Regions from separate parts of the Homo sapiens genome. Here region 1 is linked to region 2. The links are contacts of gene promoters, found by promoter capture Hi-C in blood cells and fetal thymus (Javierre and others, 2016). All regions are on one chromosome and are shown on one strand. The core of a region is centred on a gene start or on the middle of the fragment in contact, and the rest is flanking DNA. Distances in the headings are between cores, read along the strand shown.

What was found. Contacts are between HindIII fragments. The CHiCAGO score rates a contact against its expected background, and 5 or more counts as called.
Region 1: a fragment that was not itself captured here is called in contact with the fragment with the promoter of BICD1 in region 2 in 1 of 17 cell types (M2 macrophages); the score reaches 5.4 in M2 macrophages.

What each region holds. Positions count from the first base shown.
Region 1 is chr12:32,326,663-32,332,269 of GRCh38, reverse strand. BICD1 (BICD cargo adaptor 1) reads right to left here. Exons shown (of 10, transcript NM_001714.4): 5 at 3,715-4,809. Among named protein-coding and RNA genes, the nearest start is that of FGD4, 70 kb to the left of the region's middle. The HindIII fragment of the contact is 4,608 bases long and covers 1-3,678 here.
Region 2 is chr12:32,104,938-32,110,028 of GRCh38, reverse strand. It overlaps BICD1 (BICD cargo adaptor 1), which reads right to left and starts at 3,182. Exons shown (of 10, transcript NM_001714.4): 1 at 2,485-3,182. The coding sequence starts at 2,697. It overlaps BICD1-AS1 (BICD1 antisense RNA 1), which reads left to right and starts at 2,567. Exons shown (of 3, transcript NR_185992.1): 1 at 2,567-2,635. RefSeq lists enhancers at 1,575-2,212, 2,740-2,819 and a silencer at 3,180-3,659. The HindIII fragment of the contact is 11,162 bases long and covers 1-3,679 here.

The DNA.
Region 1 (5,607 bases), core at 125-2,624, 220 kb before region 2:
CCATTTGTTATTTTTCCTGATCATCTCCTTCCTCTCATCCTTCAGCCTCCAACAGGAACCAGTGTGTGTTGTTCCCCTCTATGTGTCTATTTGCTCTCATCATTTAGCTCCCACTTATAAGTGAGAACATGCGGTATCTGGTTTTCTGTTCCTGTGTTAGTTTGCTAAGGATAATGGTCTCCAGCTCCAACCATGTCCCTGTAAATGACATGATCTCATTCTTTTCTTTCTTATGGCTGTATAGTAGAATGCCTATTTTAAAACAGGGAGATTTCCTTTTTTCCCCTGTACCCCAGAATTCTCACCTTAACCTTAAAAACAAACATTTCACAATGTCTAAATAAATATAGTGAATGTCATCTGTTAATACTTGAAGCTATTTACGGCAATAAGCATCACAGCAACAGCCCCAACATCATGAACGTGCAGACCAAATGCATTGCTAGAAATGTGTTTTCATTTAATTTACTGAGCCCATATAGACTGTAACTCTAATGTAATGCAAATGGTACAGGTTGAGCATCCTTAATCCAAAATCCAAAATGCTTCAAAATCTGAAACCTTTTGAGTGCTGACATGAGCCACAAAATTCTACACCTGACCTCATGTCATGAGTGGCAGTCAAAACTTTGTTTCAGCCACGGAATCATTAAAAAAATTGTATAAAATTACCTTCAGGCTATGTATATAGGAATACATGAAACATAAGTAAATTTCATGTTTGGACCTGGATCCCATCCCCAAGATAACTCATTATGTATATATGCAAATGTCCAAAATCCAAAATCTGAAACATTTCTTGTCCCCCAAAACATTTCGGAAAAGGGATACTCAACCTGTACCACAAAGCACAGTGAAAATAAAACTTCAGCTAGGAATGCTTTGTTCTGTTCTGATTTCCTGTGGTACTGTTTACATCACTCTAAAGTGCTTGATAAGTCCTGTCTTGTAAACAGCTACAGGCAATTGCGGAATTCCTACTAGATTATGTCATTTATTTTTGCATCCCTACTTACTGCCTCCCAGAAAATATGTAATCAATGAATGCTTGTTCACAAATTAGTCTCTGTTGGTTGGCCAAGTGTCCTTATCTATACCTCTGTTTCAGTTAAGCATCTTGATTTTTTTTTTTTTAAGACAGATTTTCGCTCTTGTTGCCCAGGCTGGAGTGCAATCATGCAATCTAGGCTCACCGCAACCTCCGCCCCCCGGGGTTCAAGTGATTCTCCTGCCTCAGCCTCCCGAGTAGCTGGGATTACAGGCACCCGCCACCACGCCTGGTTAATTTTGTATTTTTAGTAGGGACGGTGTTTCTCCATGTTGGTCAGGCTGGTCTCAAACTCCTGACCTCAAGTGATCCACTGGCCTTGGCCTCCCAAAGTGCTGGCATTACAGGCGTGAGCCATTGCGCCCAGACCTAAATTGTTAATATTCAACCTTTAGGAAGAAGTCAGAGAAGTTATCTGGATGGCTTGATCAAGAATGCCCCAGGATAGCATGTCCTTGTGTAAGCCTTATCTAATATGGTATTGGTTATTTATGACCACTCTGAATCATTGGGTCTTTAAATTATAGCAGAGTTACAATAATAAATTCCTTTATTCCGACCTAAAATTAGAGTCAGATCTCTCACAAATTCTTCATTCACTCTAATCTTTTCTTTTTTTATTTTATTTATTTTATATATATATATTTTAATTTACTTTAAGTTCTAGGGTACATGTGCACAACGTACAGGTTTGTTACATATGTATACATGTGCCATGTTGGTGTGCTGCACCCATTAACTCGTCATTTACATTAGGTAAATCTCCTAATGCTATCCCTCTCCCCTCCCCCCACCCCACAACAGGCCCCGGTGTGTGATGTTCCCCTTCCTGTGTCCATGTGTTCTCATTGTTCGATTCCCACCTATGAGCGAGAACTTGTGGTGTTCGGTTTTTTGTCCTTGCGATAGTTTGCTGAGAATGATGGTTTCATTCACTCTAATCTTTTCTATTTCTCTAAAGTGACAACATAAAATAAAGTCATATTTTGCCCTTAGGTTTATATAAAACATGTTAATAGTGCAAACAATATTATGGCTTATGGTATAGATGTCAATTATATAAATAGATTTATGGGAACTAGAGATGAGGACTTGAAAGCTGCACTGTAGATGAGATAATAAGGGCGTGGTTTTCCCCAGATGATGGCAAATGGAGAAGACACTCTGAATCTGAAATTAATCCTCATTCTCCAAAGACCAAGAGCTCCCTTGACCTACTATTCACTGGCACTGCTTGCGTTTGCAGGAGGGTATTTGGTGCTTTGTTGCTTCTCTTTATCAACACCAACATTTATTCAGCACCTTTCTCAAATATGTGTCTTTCAAGAATATCTTTTCAGATAAACTAAATAAAGGTGAAAATAATTTTCCTGCCTATATTTCGCAGCACTCCCACCAAGGTAAAACTCAGGGTGAAAACAATTTCAGTCATTAAGGAGGGCTGGGAATTAGACAGGTTCATGTTGTAACATTACTACTTGTCCAGAAGGACAAGATCAATAGCTAGGAAAAGCTCCCTATTACTTAACCTCTGACCCAGGTGGGTTAACATCCCAAATGAACCTAAATTTCAGATACGTGGTCAGTAGCACAGGTAGAGCTCATTCTTATACTCTCTCACACACACTCTCTATTATTTCCTTGCTAAAGTGGCCCCAAACTATTTAATTTGTTGGTAACAATCTGTCTGGCTTTGTTTCTGTTACTCACTCAGGTCCTCACAGTTGTCTTGCCTTTCATCCCTGACTTATTCATTTATTTAGCGCTCTTGTTTCTCTAAGTTTGGGATGAAGGACAAAACACTCCTTTTAATCTTGCTATACTTGGCTGGGCGCGGTGGTTCATGCCTGTAATCCCAGCACTTTGGGAGGCCGAGGTGGGCGGATCACTTGAGGTCAGGAGTTCGAGACCAGCCTAGACAATATGGTGAAATTCTGTCTCCACAAAAAGTTAGCCAGGCATGGTGGCACATGCCTGTAATCTCAGCTGCTTCGGAGGCTGAGGCATGAGAATCGCTTGAACCCAGGAGGCGGAGGTTGCAGTGAGCAGAGATGGCGCCAGTGCACTCCAGCCTGGACAACAGAGCGAGACTCTGTCTCAAAACAAAAATAAAAAATAATAATAATAATAATTTTGCTATACTCCTAGAAATTGAGTCTTGAATCTGAACCTCCAGCTCCAAAGCTGGGGTCCAGTTATTGGCCATCAGACCTTCTTCACCATATGTACCCAGATTTCCCTCTGTTTGCTCTAGCTGCCTGCTGGGTGTTTGTCTTTCTTGCTGTATCGCCCTGGTTGGTGTAACCTGCCTTGCCAGCCTATTCTGCCACCCTCCATCTCCTGTTTCCACAGCCACTCACTGCCAGGCTTCAGCCCAGCACCGCCTGAGCTGCCTTTCTACATCTGCAGAAAGGCATCTAGATCTTCTCCTGTGTTCCTGCTTTAAGTTCCTCACCTCTGCCTCCACCTAACTGGGCACAGGTATTTCATCATTTAAAAACAATAATTATTATGACATTCTGATCTGGCACTGGGACAGTTTTATTTATCCACTTACCAAGAATCTGAACTCTCATCTTGACGATACTCGATACTCAATAAAATTAGGGAATAAATTAGTTAAGAAAGCTTTGACTGGCATGCTTTCACCAGTAGAATGAGATTACCTGCTTGTTGGCTTTCAACACCGCCCTCAATGTGGCGATCTGCTCCCGTTTGGTGCTCAGCAGGGACTTTAGCTTGAGGATCTCTTCCATTAAGGCTTCCTTGTCTTTATCAATCATGGGGGCTAGCTCCCGAGCCGCTGCTCTTTGACGAGACAGTTGCAAGGACCGGTCCACAGCTTTCTGCAGATGCTTGATTTGGTCCCGGATTATGGCATTAAGGTTGTAGATATTCATTGGCTCTTTGCGGATGTCACTTGTATCCAATACTGGAGATGACGGTGGGGCAGTAATAACAGGAGAGATTGTGGGGGTCTTAGTTGGACTTGGTTCTTTGCTGGCCTCTGTGCTTTCTTTTGCAACTGGTTCAGATGAGGTCCTTGTTTCTACCGGGGATGACACACCCCGCCTGGCTAATCGTGGGGACAAAAGTCCTCTGGGATCATCGGGCCCTTTCAGGCTGCCACTGCGGGTGACTCTGCTCTGCCTATAGTAATCCAGCATGACCCTGTTGGGAGTTTCATTATTACATAGACACACATGGTGGTAAAGCTGAGCTAACTCCTCACTGAATGTCACTAACTCATCCTGGGCCGTATTAAGGGTACTGTGATTTTCGTTGGCTATGCTGGTCATCTTTTGCAACTCCTTCTCCATGTGGGCCATCTTCTCACCACTCTCCTTGGTGGTCTTCTCAAGGCTTGTCACCTGCTCATCATACATCTGGATTTTACTCTCATACTTGGCCTTCTCATCAGTGTAGTTTTCTACAGATTTATTATATTTCTCCTTTAAGGCCTTAATTTCAGCTTTCAGATCAATCACCTCAGTTACTGCCACCCTGTATTTGCATTCAAGGATCTCTAAACCATTGATGTCCACCTCATAGTCATGGGCCTCCTCCCCTGAGTCCCGGCCCTTCTCCCCGTCCAGCTCAGCCTTGAGCTCCTTGCTGCTTTGCAGGCCCCTCATGGCATTGACGTGCTCTGTGAGCCGGTGCACCCGCTCATGCTGCTCCGTCAGTGCCCCCTTGGTGTGTTCCAGCTGTGTCTGTGACTCCTGTAGGTTGGCCAAAAGAATGGCCTTTTCCCGCTCTACCTGCAATGGCAAAAGAAAGTTTCTGAATCACCTCAAGGCAGCACCAATGATGAACTTAATCCATTCACAGTCGGGCATGTATACACTTAAAATCACTGCAGCAGAGCCAATGTTCCCACTATTTCAAATTAAATTGGAGTGTTTTTTATTTCAGCAGTTCTGGTAAGTCAATCTAAAAGTACATAATTCTAAAAGAATTATACTGCAAGTAGTTACCCATCAATTTCGCTTGTATCATACACATATACTGACGAAACTTCAATGTTATTAGAACAATCTTATTTTGATTTTTAACACCTTGCAGAAAACAACATGACTTTAAGAGATAAGCATAGGACTGGTGTTATTTTTATTTTGAGTGCCTTAGAGTACATCTGCTTTTCAGATCATAAGTGACTGTATCAGGGTGCCTATGAATCAATCATCTTTTCCTTCCCAGAGCTCAACCCCAAATCAGGTTTAAAACCTAAGGCTTTAACTCCCTAAATAATGCTGAGTACTTTAACCATCCCCTTAAAAATAAGCATTTAGTCCCCAAAATAAACACGCACTACATTTGATAGTTTTTATCTTTTTTTAAGACAGGGTCTCGCTCTGTCACCCACACTGGAGTGCAGTGGCACAATCAGGGCTTACTGCAGGCTCTGCCTCTCAGGCTCAAGTGATCCTTCCACCTCAGTGTCCTGAGTAGCTGGGACTACAGGTATGCACCACCACACCTGGCTAATTTTGTGTGTGTGTAGAGACAGAGTCTTGCTATGTTGTCCAGGCTGGTGTTGAATGCCTAGGCGCATGTCA
Region 2 (5,091 bases), core at 1,933-4,432:
TATTTGTTCAAAAATCCTAGAAATAAGCAAAGATTTATTTTATGCTTGGCTTTATAGATATAATGCAACATCATTTACTATACATACCTGATGAGCAAAACTTTCTTTTGAAAAATCAAAACACTCACAAAATATTTTTCAAAACTGAGGTGTTGGAACACCTCAGTTTGCACAATTATTTTGGATTTACTTTTCATACAAGAAATGTTACTTGAAATCAATTTAACTCATTTAAGTTATATTTCCAACTAAAGTATATTCTATGTTTAAAGAATAAAAATAATAGGCCTCACTATCAAATAATCAACTATAATAATTTTATTACCTAAAATACATTTTTATATAACTGTATAAACCAGTTTTTTAGGAATCTCGAATTTCACTTATGCTAAATGCAACTGAAAATAAATATATGAACAAGAATCGTTTAGTAAAAATAATGCTGGTAAATTTTTATTAACCTCCTGCTATATAGAACAAAATATATATTAAAATATTTATAGAAAAAATTTTAGTTGGTATTTGCATTATTCTGTATTAAGAAACCACAGTTACATTATTCCTACAAAACGTTTTTTTCACATTTTTCTCATTACTGCTGGTGAAACTAATACAGGTAGTTTTATTAACATCTGTCACTTCCTATACATCCTAATTTTCTTAGTATTTATCTAACACTAATCAATATTGACTAGTGAACCCTTGATAAAAGTGTGCCTTCTTCTAGTACAAACTGATTCTTTCATAAAATATTTCATGCCCACTGTGTGCTAGCTTTTGTGTTAAAGACTTGGGATGCAAAGCTCATGGTGTAGCAAAGGCAAAACACAATTGCATTAAGGTTTGCTATGCAAGGTAAGTGCAATGACAGAAATATCCCTAGAAGGATTGTTTAAATCAAGCAGCAAAGTCAGTAAGAGGTACATTTCATTAAATTAAGTCCATCTCCTTTATCAAGAAGGTGATGGCTTACCACTTTCTGGTTTGCACTTCCCTATCTTGGCAAAGCAGTGTTGATAGGTATAGACAATATCAAAACATCTCTGAGAATGACAGTCATCATCCTGCTTCCTCACTTCACAAGGTTTAGCATCACTGCATTTAAACATGTCAGCCTAATCTAAGTTGGAAAATATAAACAAGTCCAGCTGTTGTTAAGACCAGACAGGTACATGGTAAGTAAAATAGGAACCAGAAATTTACAGCCTGACACACAAAAATTAGATTCCTAGTTGGGATTTTTAATCATAGGTAGTACATTTATTTTTTGGTAGACAGGCATCCAAATAAAAATAAGACATATCTAAAAGTATAAATGCTTACCATATTACACACTAAATTGGAAGGCAAGTTGATTCAGTATGTCATAAATCACATCTTTTAACTGTAACAGCATAAAATAAATAATAGATTTTTGATATTATATGCCAAACAATAATTAACATTTAAATGTCAATATGCACCTAAAAATAAGGACTTGACACACAGAAAAGGAGTGTATATTACATTTAAATTTGTAAGTGGTTATTTGCTACCCATAGTGCCTCAAGAATCAGATAAAAAAGACCGAGTTACTTAAACAATATGTATGTTCTTAAGAGTGACTGATAGGAAATCAAAGCACGTTCATTGTTTTCTCCCATACATCCGACAGGCTTTAAAAGAGGCCAAATACCAAAAAACTAAAGAGACATTATACATCACCCATTTTTGATATTCTGGTTTTATAAATATATCATTTCAACCAGAAGAGCCTCATTTGAAATGCAACACTACCCACGTATTTGATATACACCACTCTTTCAGACTATTTGTAGGTGAGTTCAATTTTTTCTAGTCAGGGTGACCTCATAAGACTTGGACATGGCCCAGCCTCGCTCCGAGGTGAAATCAAGGCAGTGGGATCACCCAGCAAAGTTGTTTTTCTTCTGCAGCCCAATGACAAGAATGACTAAAGCCAAGCAGAATGAAGATTGCCTAGCCTTTGTCAAATGGGATTGGTGAGGAGTTCCCTCTCTCACCAAGGAGTGGTTACATCCAGAGGAAAGCTGAGGTGCCACACAGTCTAAATCCTGAAATTGTGGGTCCTCAGGCACAAACCTCATCACTTTTGTGGACTACGAAATTGTCGCTGAAACCTGGGTTTGAGATAACAGCGGTTTTGAGAAGTTTGATTTATACATTCCAACCCACTTGAATGTCGTCTTAGAGTGCTGAGACTTGATGACTCTTACTAATCTCCCTCCCCCGCAGGCCAAACAGCCATTGCCTCCCAAATTCCAGCTTATATATTCATTTCTTAGGCAATTTTTCTCTTGGGGGAGGAAACAATGGACTCTTTCAATCTTCTCTTACCAACAAAGGGCCCTAGAAGAAAAAACAGTCCTTTCAATCACCTCCTTTATGACTTCTTGATCATGATGAGTGGGCCTTGCGGGTGGGGGGAGTGAGGGCCAGGAAAGGGAGAGGTGACAGGCAACTCACCTCTTTGAGCTGCTCCAGCTCCTGTTTGAGGCTGTCGTACTCAGCCTCCAGTTCATCATACTGCTGTTTGAGGGTCAGCTTCTCCTCCAGCACCACCAGCCCGTACTCGGCAGCCTGGATCTTCTCGTGGGTGGTCTCCGTGAGCTCCTTGGTTAGCCTCTCTATCTCAGTCTTATAATGGTCCACCGTCTGCAATACCTCTTCTGCGGCCATAGCCCCGGTGGATGGAGGCAGGAGGGGGTTACGGGGTGGGGGAGATGGATGCGAAGCTGGCGGGGAAAGGGAGAAGGAAATGGGAAGGGATGGGTGGAAACGGAAAAGAAAGTGCGGCCGGATGAATGAGCAGCGCGATGCCCCGCCGGCTCTGGTGGCAGCGGCAGCTACACCGCCCGAGAAACTGACGAGAAATGCAACATGGAGAACAGGGCAGAGGGTCAGGGGCGAGGCGGCAAAGGCCGCCGCATGTGTCCTCGGGGCCGGCCCCTGCGTGCGGTCAGCAGCCGTGCGGCATGGCCCGGGCTGCGGCGGCCGCGGGTAGCGAGGGGCTCCGGATTCTGCTTATTCAGAGACGCCCGTCCGCCATGTCTCCCGGGCCGCGTCACTGCAGTCTCGCCCTGGGTCTGGCGCGCTCCGGCTCGCGGCTCGCTCTCTCGCTCCACCTGCTCCCTCTGGCCCTGCAGCAGCCGGTGCGGAATGATGCAGTCTCGGGGCCGGCTCCCTCCCTTCCCGCGTGGCGGCGGCTCCGAGCAGGGGGCGGGGAGCGGATGGAGTCAGCGCGGGGGGCGGAGGGAAGGACCAGACGGAAACATCCCGAGGCGCCTCCCGCCGGGCGCGCGGGCCGCCGCCCGCTGCACCGTGAGGCGCGCCAGGAGGAGGCGCAGGCGACGGGTCTGGGACTGGGAAGCGGTGGGGCGCGCGCGGCGGGGGAGCCTCCGCCCTGTCCGGCTCGCGGGGGCGGGAGCTCCTCCCAGGGCTTTGTCCCGGTGGCAGTAGAAGACCCCGAGAGCGGCGTGGGCGCCCGGGCTCTTTTGCTACGTCGAGGGCCGAAGCTCAGGAAACTGCCTGGAACGCTTTCTCCCGAGAAAAGCAAACAAAACTATCGCGGTCGCGGTCCGCGCATCCTCCTCGTCCCCTGGGCGCGCAGAAGGCTTTTTGGGCCACCTGCCCCCAAAAGACCGCTGGGTTTCCCAAAGCTTTCAAGACGCACCCCAAGGCGCCCTCCTCCGTCGTCCCCCTCTCTCCCTGCCTCTCCCAAGTCTGGCCTGGGCCACCTAACACTCTCACCAGATAACCTTACTATCCTCACAGGACAGTCCGCTAAATATTGCTCGCCCTCACCCAGCGTATCACAAGAGCGCTATCCACTCAGAAAAAAAATATCTCCACAATACATGCACCCAGGAAACCTCTAGCTAGGTACTGTATATCTTGCCCCAATAGTTTCCATCAAAGCACCTTACTCTGTGTCTTCAATAAAGGAAAACTGCTTGAAATTCCCTATATAAGATACCAACGATGCCCTGTAATAAGCATTTTTTAAACAATAAGAGCTAAGAGTTCTTGAGACCCATACCAAGCATTCTTCTAAGTATGTAACATGCGTTCTCTCCAATCCTAACAATGCTTTGAGGTAAGAGCCATTATCCTCAGTTTACAGGGGGTGAAAGGCAAAGGGAGATGTGATTTGTCCAAAGTCAGGCAACTCTGGAATCTTAACTCGGGAGCACTAAACGGGATCATTATGTTGGCTTCAGGTTCACTCATTACTCATACAAACCCAGCAACTACATATTACATGCTTTTAAGATAATCACATTAATCCATATGAAGAGTGATGATGAACGGTTACAAAAGGAGGTGAAAGCAAAGTAAGAGTGGAGTAAATGAAAGAGTGGAGAAGGGTCGAGAATCAAGAGGAAGAACGCAACATGAGAGAAAAGAAGCAATTTCTGTGTAACGGGAGGCTGTGAGACCCACAGATCAGTGGGTCTTTCCAGTTCCCTCTCTTCTTCTGCATGGCACCTATTCCAGAGCTGTTTCTCAGTGACCAGGTGATGAACACACATGCGTTTTCTAAGTTAGAAAGCAGGACTCAACTCTCCCATCATTGTGTACCTGGTAAAAAAAAAAAAAAAAAAAAAAAAGATGATTGTTGACCGGGCACAGTGGCTCACGCCTATAATCCCAGCACTTTGGGAGGCAGAAGTGGATGGATCATTTGAGGTCCGGAGTTCAAGACTAGCCTGGCCCACATGGTGAAATCCCATCTCTACTAAAAATACAAAAATTAGCCAGGTATGGTGGTGCACGCCTGTGATCCCAGCTACTTGGGAGGCTGAGGCAGGAGAATTGCTTGAATCCAGGAGGTGGAGGGTACAGATGGCACCACTATACTCCAGCCTAGGCAACAGAGACTCCATCTCAAAAAAAAAAAAAAAAAAGGACACTTGTTGATGGCGTGGGAGAAAAAGCATATGACAGTGCCCTTCCAAAGTTTCCACTAGCAGGCTGTCTGGATGTGTTTTCCATTGCTTCACAAACCAGACAAGTTTCCTTCTAAACGCCAGCGATCACAACAGAATATTCTCATGTGATTGTCTGATCTAA